Linked DNA regions of Homo sapiens: all the other regions are linked to region 1. The links are contacts of gene promoters, found by promoter capture Hi-C in blood cells and fetal thymus (Javierre and others, 2016). All regions are on one chromosome and are shown on one strand. Each heading gives the region's core, a stretch centred on a gene start or on the middle of the fragment in contact. The rest is flanking DNA. Distances are from core to core; before and after follow the strand shown.

The links. Contacts are between HindIII fragments. The CHiCAGO score rates a contact against its expected background, and 5 or more counts as called.
Region 2: a contact is called between a fragment that was not itself captured here and the fragment with the promoter of ERLIN1 in region 1, in 1 of 17 cell types (fetal thymus). The highest score is 5.0, in fetal thymus.
Region 3: a contact is called between a fragment that was not itself captured here and the fragment with the promoter of ERLIN1 in region 1, in 1 of 17 cell types (fetal thymus). The highest score is 5.3, in fetal thymus.

Annotation. Positions count from the first base shown.
Region 1 is chr10:100,184,663-100,187,505 of GRCh38, reverse strand. It overlaps ERLIN1 (ER lipid raft associated 1), which reads left to right and starts at 1,477. Exons shown (of 11, transcript NM_006459.4): 1 at 1,477-1,992. The coding sequence starts at 1,880. It also overlaps a transcript of CHUK not described here. RefSeq lists an enhancer at 1,110-1,259 and a silencer at 1,430-1,579. The HindIII fragment of the contact is 3,606 bases long and covers 1-2,395 here.
Region 2 is chr10:100,996,890-100,999,732 of GRCh38, reverse strand. It overlaps a transcript of LZTS2 not described here. Among named protein-coding and RNA genes, the nearest start is that of LZTS2, 1.5 kb to the left of the region's middle. RefSeq lists silencers at 1-163, 264-673, 2,464-2,753 and an enhancer at 2,837-2,843. The HindIII fragment of the contact is 2,612 bases long and covers 288-2,843 here.
Region 3 is chr10:99,616,743-99,619,585 of GRCh38, reverse strand. The region is part of intron 1 of SLC25A28 (solute carrier family 25 member 28); the gene reads left to right. Among named protein-coding and RNA genes, the nearest start is that of SLC25A28, 2.3 kb to the left of the region's middle. The HindIII fragment of the contact is 1,032 bases long and covers 829-1,860 here.

The DNA.
Region 1 (2,843 bases), core at 228-2,727:
TCCATTCTTTTTGCTTTTTGGAAGTTAAAATAGCTAAGCTCTGCAAATATCATTTATTTGGAACAGATAAGGTCCCAGACATTCCTAGATAATAAAAATCAAATGAATGATACAGGTAAGTGTATTTATTGAAGGGTGTGGGTAGAGTGGTCTGGGAAGTCTTGCTTTAATGAAGACGGATTGATTCTATTTACCTCTTCTTACTTCCACTACTAAGTAACCCTGGGCCTGCAGTTTCCTAACCACTTGACTTCCTTGCCAACAGTCTGTCTCCACTTTCAGCCGTTTTATAGATTCATTGGCCCTAAAGCACTGCTTTCCCATACTTCCCTACCCAAGAGGGCAGGGGTCCCCAAGCCCTGGGCCGCGGACCGGAACCAGACAGTGGCCTGTTAGGAACCAAGCCGGATAGCAGGAGGTGAGCGGCGGGCGAGTGAGCATTATCGCCTTGAGCTCTGCCTGCTGTCAGATTAGCGAGTGGCATCAGATTCTCATAGGCACGCGAACCCTATTGTGAACTGCACATGTGAGGTTTGCCGGCTCCCTGTGAGAATCTAATGCCTGATGATCTGAAGTGGAACAGTTTCATCCCCAACCCACACACACCCCCACCCCGTCCGCTGGGTTAGAGGACTTTACAACCCTAGTCCACCTTGTCCAGTTATAGTTCCACCTCTAGCCTTTCAAGGCTTAAACCATTAATGTCCTTAATTTCTCTTGTATTCATCTATCTCCCAACTATACCTTTTTCCTTCCCTTTTTTATTTTTGGCAATATGTGCCCATGGTTTTTTAATTTAAAACGAACAGAATATGTAGTGACGCCTACCATAGCACTCCTTCCCATCACACAAGCCTTCAAGGAAACTGAAGTACTTACTTTGGTCTCCCTGGAGGATTCCCTCCGCCTCCCGCCCCATGTGCTTAGCAATTCTGTTCCTGTAGTCTGGATGGCCTTCATAAAGCCCTCACTGGACCAGCATTCTGGCACATAATAGGAACACTTAAAAAACGAGAGAATGATGCCGTTATATCTAATATCTTCCTCTTCTGAACTTTCACAGCACTTTATTTGCAACAAGTTTAGTTGCTCCTGAAGGGCAGGATCTCTGCCGGAAGCAAGTGCGTGCCACACAGTGGGGCTCCGCATACACTGCAAAAGGACAAATAAACCGAACAGCTACCGTTTGAGAGTGAGCGAGTGGGTTCTCTGCACAAGAACAAACCAACCAGTCCCTTGTCCGAAAGGGCGTCTCCTTTTCTCTGCTTCGCTGCTCACTCCAGACTGCGGGCTGTCCTCTTCCGAAGCAGTTAACCAGCAGTGTACAGAAAGCGACTTGCCTCCAAAGGAGCCTGCGCGGCCCGCGGCTAGGAGAATTTTGTCCCATGCGCTCCCCGTCTCACTAGCCGCGGGCCGGGGCTACGCCGTGTGCGTCCCCGCGCAGCCGCAGTGCTGGGCGAGTGGGCGGGGCCGGCTGTTGGCGGCGGTTGGCTCGGCGCGGGAGTCGGCTGCACGTGCGGGCGGGGGCGATGCGTCACTGATCGGTGAGGCGCGGCCGAGGGGTCGGCTTTCCTCGCGAGCCTGCGGCTGGGCTTCTTCTCAGTTAGTGCCTTCCACCCGGGAGCGACCCTTGGGAGAGGGAGTTTCAGGAAGCTCACCGAGCAGGGGCGGCCCACTGGCCTCCGGGGGCGGAGGAGTTGGCAAGGGGTCAGCGGGCTCAGCCAGAAGGGAAGAATGAGGGGACAGGGGTACTGGACTCCCCGGCTCAGCCTGCGAGAGAGCGCCAAGTTTCCGGAGGGAGAGGGTAGAAACTGGAGGGGGTGGACCTGTCACTCACGGGACTGAGGGTCCTTTTCTCCCGCTCCCAGGAGGAACGAGAATGAATATGACTCAAGCCCGGGTTCTGGTGGCTGCAGTGGTGGGGTTGGTGGCTGTCCTGCTCTACGCCTCCATCCACAAGATTGAGGAGGGCCATCTGGCTGTGTACTACAGGTGAGCGGCATGTGCAGTCAGTTAGGGCTCTAGAGCAGATTAAAAGGGTACTCCAGAGTGGAGTCTGGGAAGTTGTTCCCTCTGCAACGTTCGGGGGCGCATGTCCCATCTCTAGGGAGAGCACGGGGGTCGAAGCGGGCTTTTGCGGAGCACCCTCCAGATGTTGGACAGTTTTAGTGCTATGTTCGTTTTGTTGCAGAGATTAAGTCTCCCTACGGTTATTCCTATACACAGCAAACTCAATTATTTGTAGAAAAATGAAGAAGGAAGAAAGGAAGTAGTCACTCTACCTCTAACTGAAGAGATGGATAAATTATAGTTCGTTCAACTGTACAGGCTTTAGTTTGCCGCTGTAGATGCTGTATGTTTATGGTTGTTTCTTAGACTTTTTCATTTAAAAGCTTCCAGTGTCTGGTTACGTCTTGTAACACCATGATGACTGTGATGGTGCTTATGTCCCTGGACCTCCAGGGACATAAGCACAACACTGATGGGCCATGCTCCTCCCTCCTTACTGTTGCTGTTCAAGTTGGGGACAGGAGTGGTGTGGGAGCTGTTGCTCTCTTGTTGAGCTCGCTTAGCTTTTCCTTCAGCCTAATTACCACAAGTTCCTTTTGATACAGACTAGTAAGAGAGGCCAGTTTGTGGAGAAATTGGGATAATGGTGTATTCAAAAAGAGCGTCAACTTTTTGCTTGTTTCCACTATCCCTCAAAACTGATATTTCTACTTTCAAATCCATCCTGAATCCTAGAAAAAGAGCAATTTTAATGGTATATCTTAGCAGATGGAGCTCTACATAAGAAATTACAGATTAGTCCAGATTTCCTTCCAGTTTAAAAGCATTGTCTT
Region 2 (2,843 bases), core at 344-2,843, 810 kb before region 1:
GTCCGAGGGGCGTCTCCGCCCCGGGGCGCGGACACGCGCAAGCACCCGCGTCACGCGAATCCGCCGGGGCGCACGTAGGGGCTGCTCGGCGGCAGTCGGGAGCCCTCCCTCCGACGCCCTGTGACTGCGTGTCTGGGGGCTCGGTTCGGCTCGACGCGGCGGCGGCGGTGGTCACCCTCAACCCCAGCCGGGGCCCCGGGGCCAGCGGCAGCTGGTCATTGTTCCAGCACAAAGGGCCACGGCGCGGCGGCGGCCGCCCCTCCCCCTCCGCTTCTCCAGGCGAAGCTTCCCTGACACGCTCTCAGCCTCAGAGTCCCAAGCGAGAGGCCGATGGCCGGCCGTCCCCCACTCTCCGGTGCCGGGACCCCGCGCCCTAGCCCGAGTAGGAGGCCGAGGCTCGATCCGCGCCTGCCCCACGGCGGGTTGGAGGCGGCAACCTGGGCTTCGCGGAGGCGACGCCACCTGGCGGCCGGCTCGGAGAACACACCCAGCCGCCCCCAACACGCGGGCCCTGCCCCACTCCCCGGCACGGTGCCCTTTTCCCCGCGAACCCAGGCCGGCCTCTGGCGCGACCGCGTGCTCCCCAGCCTCCCCTCGGGATCACTTGCTAAGAGAGAGGTCATTTATCGGAGAGGAGCGGCCCCTGGCTCCCCAACAATCACTGGGGCGAACCGGTGCAAGCCTACAGCCCAAACCTACACCAGCCTCACGGCAGACAATATTCCACTTCCTCAGGGTCAAGTAGTCTCACCTTCTCGCACACAATACAGTCTCCCTAACACCCACAAGACCTTTCCCACATGCAGCCGCAGTCTCAGCCGTCACGTGGGTCCGCGTTCCTTCTTTCCATAATCTTCCAGTCCACCTCACACACAGACACGGTGTCACAGGCCTGTTGGGCACAGGCTTCCACAACAATCCGCAGTCCTTCGCACCCAGTCACAGTCTCAAGTGCACTTAGTCTCCTAACCATCTTTCACGCATTGACAGCCTCTATTCACAGTCACTCACACAGACAACTTCTTACACGCCGTGCTTCACAAATATTCTACCGCACAGCCTTTCCCCTAGGGGTCTCGGTGACCCGGTCAGGTCAGCTGATGCCTGCATCCCTGGGCAAAGGCAGCCTTTCTCCCCTAACCACCCCCTCCCCCGCAGGGCCAAGGCCTGCCGGAGCTCGCCCGGGCCCCAGGAAGGAGCATCCCCCCCTTCCAGGCCACAGCCCTGGCCGGCTCTCAGCTCTATTTTTAGCTCCATGGACAGGGTTGTTTTTCTTTCTTTTTCCCTGGAAAGGGAAACACAGCCCAGCCACCCTGACTCACCCCAGACCCTCAGCCTCACAAGAACAGACTGAGCCCCTCTCCCCAGCAGAGCCCCCTCCTCTGGCCTTGCCCTGATCCCTGCCTCCTGGGGCACCGAGAGCCTCCTCCTCTTTCTGGCAGCCTGCCCAGCTCAGGCGGCAGCTGGGCTCAGCGTGTGTGTAGGGGTAGGGGGTGGGGCGAGGAGGAGGCATCGGGCTACTGCCCACTCCCTCATTCCCTGGGGGGAGGGGCTCGTCCTCCTTTTTCTAGGGGGGCAGGCCCACTCTGGTATTGAGGGAGCGTTTACACTCATGCATTTTCTGGGGGGAGGAGACTCCGACTCCCGCAAGGAGTGGAGGTGAGGGTAGGAAGGGGACCCGCAGGCGCTCAGGCAGCTGCTCTCTGGGCTGGCGGTAACAGGCGGGGGCAGCTGTCCACTGCCATCAAGGGCCTGTCTCCGAAACCTTCAGGGATGCAGACACCAAGAATGTGCTGGGGAGAAGGACGTCCAGGAGCCCGAGTTAACCCCAGCCCTGCCCAGCAGCCGGGCCCTCCTGCTCCGCCCCGGCTCCAGGGGGCGCTGTGCTCCGGTTCCCGGGAGAGGGCTTATCCCCGCTCCAGGCGGAGAATGGAACGCCGTCCGGCCTGGGACCAAGCAAACGCGCCCCGGACTAGGGTGGATTTCCGCCCCGTGGTTGGGTTGGGGGCACAGGCCACTGGTCTGCGGAGCTGTCACGTGCTCGGCGTCTGTTTACGTCTTGGTCTTCACCTGCGGGAGGCCAGGAAGCAGGAACCTCCGGGTGCGTCCCACCCGGCCCGCCCCCGTCGGTAGTCACAGGGCTGCCCCTTTCCCGCACCCAATACGCGACCGCAGAGTGCCCTGCCCGCTGTGGGTCCGCGCGGGCCGGCTGGCGCTGTCCCTGGGAGTGCAAGGGTGGCCAACTGGGCGCGTCCTTTCCGAGTGCATGTGTGTTCGCGTGTCCCAAGTGCGGGCGTGGGTCTGTGCACGCGTGTGTGGGGCCCGTCGGCGTGCGTTTTCGTGTCACTTCCCTGTTCGGACTCTTCGCGGGGACCCCACCAAGTGCGGACCCCCCTCCTCACCCCAACCCCTAGCTTCCCTAGAAGCGGAAAGTTCGTTCAGGAGCGGGGATGAGCGGGAGGCGGGAGTTCCTGCACCTCCGCCGCCCCACCACTCACCCAGCGCCACCTGCGCCTCGGCTCCAGTTCCGGCCCCGCTCCTGCTCCAGCGCGCCCACCTCCTCGCCGCGACAACGCCGGCTCCCTAGCCGGCTCCGAACTCTAGGTTCCGAACTCTGGGCTCCCGGCTCCCAGCTCCCGGCGCCCGCCTGGCCCGACCTGGTGGAGCGGGGCGGGGCGGGGCGGCTCAGGCCGCGCCCCCCACCCAGGGAGGGGAGTGGTCTGCCCCGCACTCCACCAGCAGCCGACCCAGTGCCCAGCCTAAGAGTGACTCGACGGTGGCCGAGGCTGCCCCTCTGGCCTCTGACTTCACAGCTTACTGGATTTGGTTTTTGACCTGGGGAA
Region 3 (2,843 bases), core at 95-2,594, 570 kb after region 1:
CCGAATCTGGGATCTCTCAGCTAGATAAAGGACTTACATGTTAAATCTTAACACATGAGTGATTGGAAATCATTGTGCAGTGAGAATGCAGAATTCCAGACTGGAAGTAATGTGGGAAAGATCGTATTCAGGAATAGGTTTCAGTTTCTCTGTGAAGCAAGCATGATACCCCACCTATTTCCTGAACATGAAAATTGAGCTGGGATTAGGACTGTATGTTCAGGGAGCACATCAGCCTCCAAACAAGAGAGATGAAACTGATAGCATATTTCTTTGGCCACCTGAAGTTGGCAAAAAGGGAGAAGTTGCCTAGAAAGGAAGTGTGACGGTATTAGAAAGTAGATGTAAGTATGAAGAAAATGGAAAGAGATCAACAAGAGGACACGATTCTTGTGAAAGTAAAACTAATTGCATTCACAACCAAGCAGGATGATTTATGTGTACTGAAGTCAGGTCCTTCTGAAGAAAGCTGGGTGAAGAAAGAAACAGATTATTGTTCTTTACAGTTCTTATTCTTGTACATTAGTAAAGGTGCCAGCCATTAAAGGTGAGGACTGAATTGAGGGAGAGGTAAACTAGAGGGGACTGTTGATATGACAAAGACCGATGCCTCCTTTACATGTGAAGGGTAATAGTCAAACAGTGACCTGGCAGCTTTTTGATGTATGTTTTCTCTTCAAATCAGGAAAGTGTTATGTATTCAAAAGGAGGAGAGAATCAACTTGGGAAAGGCAAAGTAGATCCCTTTTACTTCCCTTTGGTTCCAGTACTGTTTCATGTTTTTCATTAGAATGTGGATAAGGAAATGGGGGGAGCGCTCATTAAGCTTTGTGAATGACAGCAAACTGGCAGGAGTATTTTAACACAAGGTAACTCCTAACAAGGGCCATATCCATTGAAAACGGGGTAAATGCACTTGACTAAAATGGACATTAGAATGTTAAATGTCCTTGTCAATTGGGAGAAATAGAAATAAACTGTAAAATCCATGAGAGAGAAGTAACAACATTGAAATGTAAAACAAGTATAAATAAAAAAGATGCACACATTATATGTATAGACTCTAGGTTGAATGACTTGTGAGTTAATAATGCCGTATATCCAAAAGTTAATATAATCTAGCTGCAGAGTAACCTCCCTAGACTTAGACTGTGAGTAGAGTGCAGGGTTTAGGATGCTGTTTTTCTGGATGAGTATTGAATGGAAAACAGATCAATGAAAACAGTGAAAATTATGTAATGGCTTGAAAAATACAGTGTAATAATTTGTCTTAGAAATATTACTGTAACTTATCAATTTAACCACTGTTCCATTATAACAGAACGGGAGGTTATCTCCTTACTCCATATATTTACATAGTGCTATTGTTGCTATAAACATTTTATAAATCCCTGTTAAAAATGCTTCTAGAATATTTGGGTGCATGTCCTTAAGGGAGGCAAATCTTTGCCCTGTGACAAGATGGAATTGATTTTGCAAGAACAAAGACTATTCAGAATCAAATATGGTGAATAAAGTGGGAGGTCAAAATGGGTAATACTGCTTGGCATCAAAATAAGGTGGGACTGGAAAGCAAGGAGACTGCTTTACTTCTGAGGCCTATAAACCCGTTGAGGAAACACCTCTGAAAGAGAAGTTCCAGAAAGGTTTTGCATAACCACAGCTTTGCTGGAATAAGTCAATTGTAGCCTTCCAAGGTAACTATTTTGAAGAACAGTTCTTACTCATTTACATAAACTTTGGAATTTTTGTTTTTTAAAAATTAGTCATACAACATAGCAGTTATGCCTGAAAGCCCTCTATTAAGGAAATAATGATTTGAGAAAAAAATGCTCAGGAGTTGTCAACAATACGAAAGCTTATTTTAGAAGGCTCATTTTCACTTGCACTTAATGCTGGGATTTAAATGACTTAGAGGGAAGAACTAGGTGAGGCCAGTATGATTTAGTGTCAGTGAGTATGTTAAACACTTTTGTGCAGGCATGAAAGTAAAATTCAAATCTCTTCCTTCAGAAAAGACTTCCCAGTTTGCTTGTCCCCAGCAGCTATCCTTCTTCTTTTAATAAGTGGATGAGTGGGGAGGAAAAGCAGCCCAGTCTTTAAGACTGGAGGCAGATATCCATGTTGTTGGAGCCTAAAGGGCAACCACAATGTTTGCAAATGAAAGCTGACATTGCCTTTTGACATGCAGGCCTGTCCATCCTCAGCTACTTATCAGGGTCAAGTTGACTTTAAATATCCTTGAGAGGGACCATGAGAAGTCAGTGTAGCCTTGCTGGATCATGGTTATTCAACCAGCTATTTCCATGGCTATAATGGAGAGGCTTGGGAGCCCAGATAAATCCCAGTTTCCTTTTCTGGGCCTCAAAGGCAAGCGCCAGACTTTATCTATGGGGACATTCTGCAACCCAAAACAGTCAGAACCCTTCTCAAAATCCTCTGGCGAAGTACCCACCTATCATCAAGCTGCTGTTGTTGGCTCTGAAGTGGTAAAGCAAATATCCACTTATATAATAAAGAGGGGAAGAGCAGAGGGAGATAAATCTCCAATTTCCAGATGTAAATGGTATCTATACATATTCACCTGTGAAAGATTAGGAAATGGAAACATTAGCTTATTTGATTTTCTTGCATCTAGTAATAAGTATTCAGTGATCTTGTGTGCCAAGCACTATCTGAAGTACCTTACATACATTTATTCATTTAATCTGTGAAGCAACTTCATGAAGTAGAAACCATTTTCATTATTTTACAGTTGAAAGGAGGCTTAGGGAAGTTATATAACTTGTCCAAGGTCACACAGTTTAAGTAGCACAGTTATGATTTGAACTCAGTGTATCAGA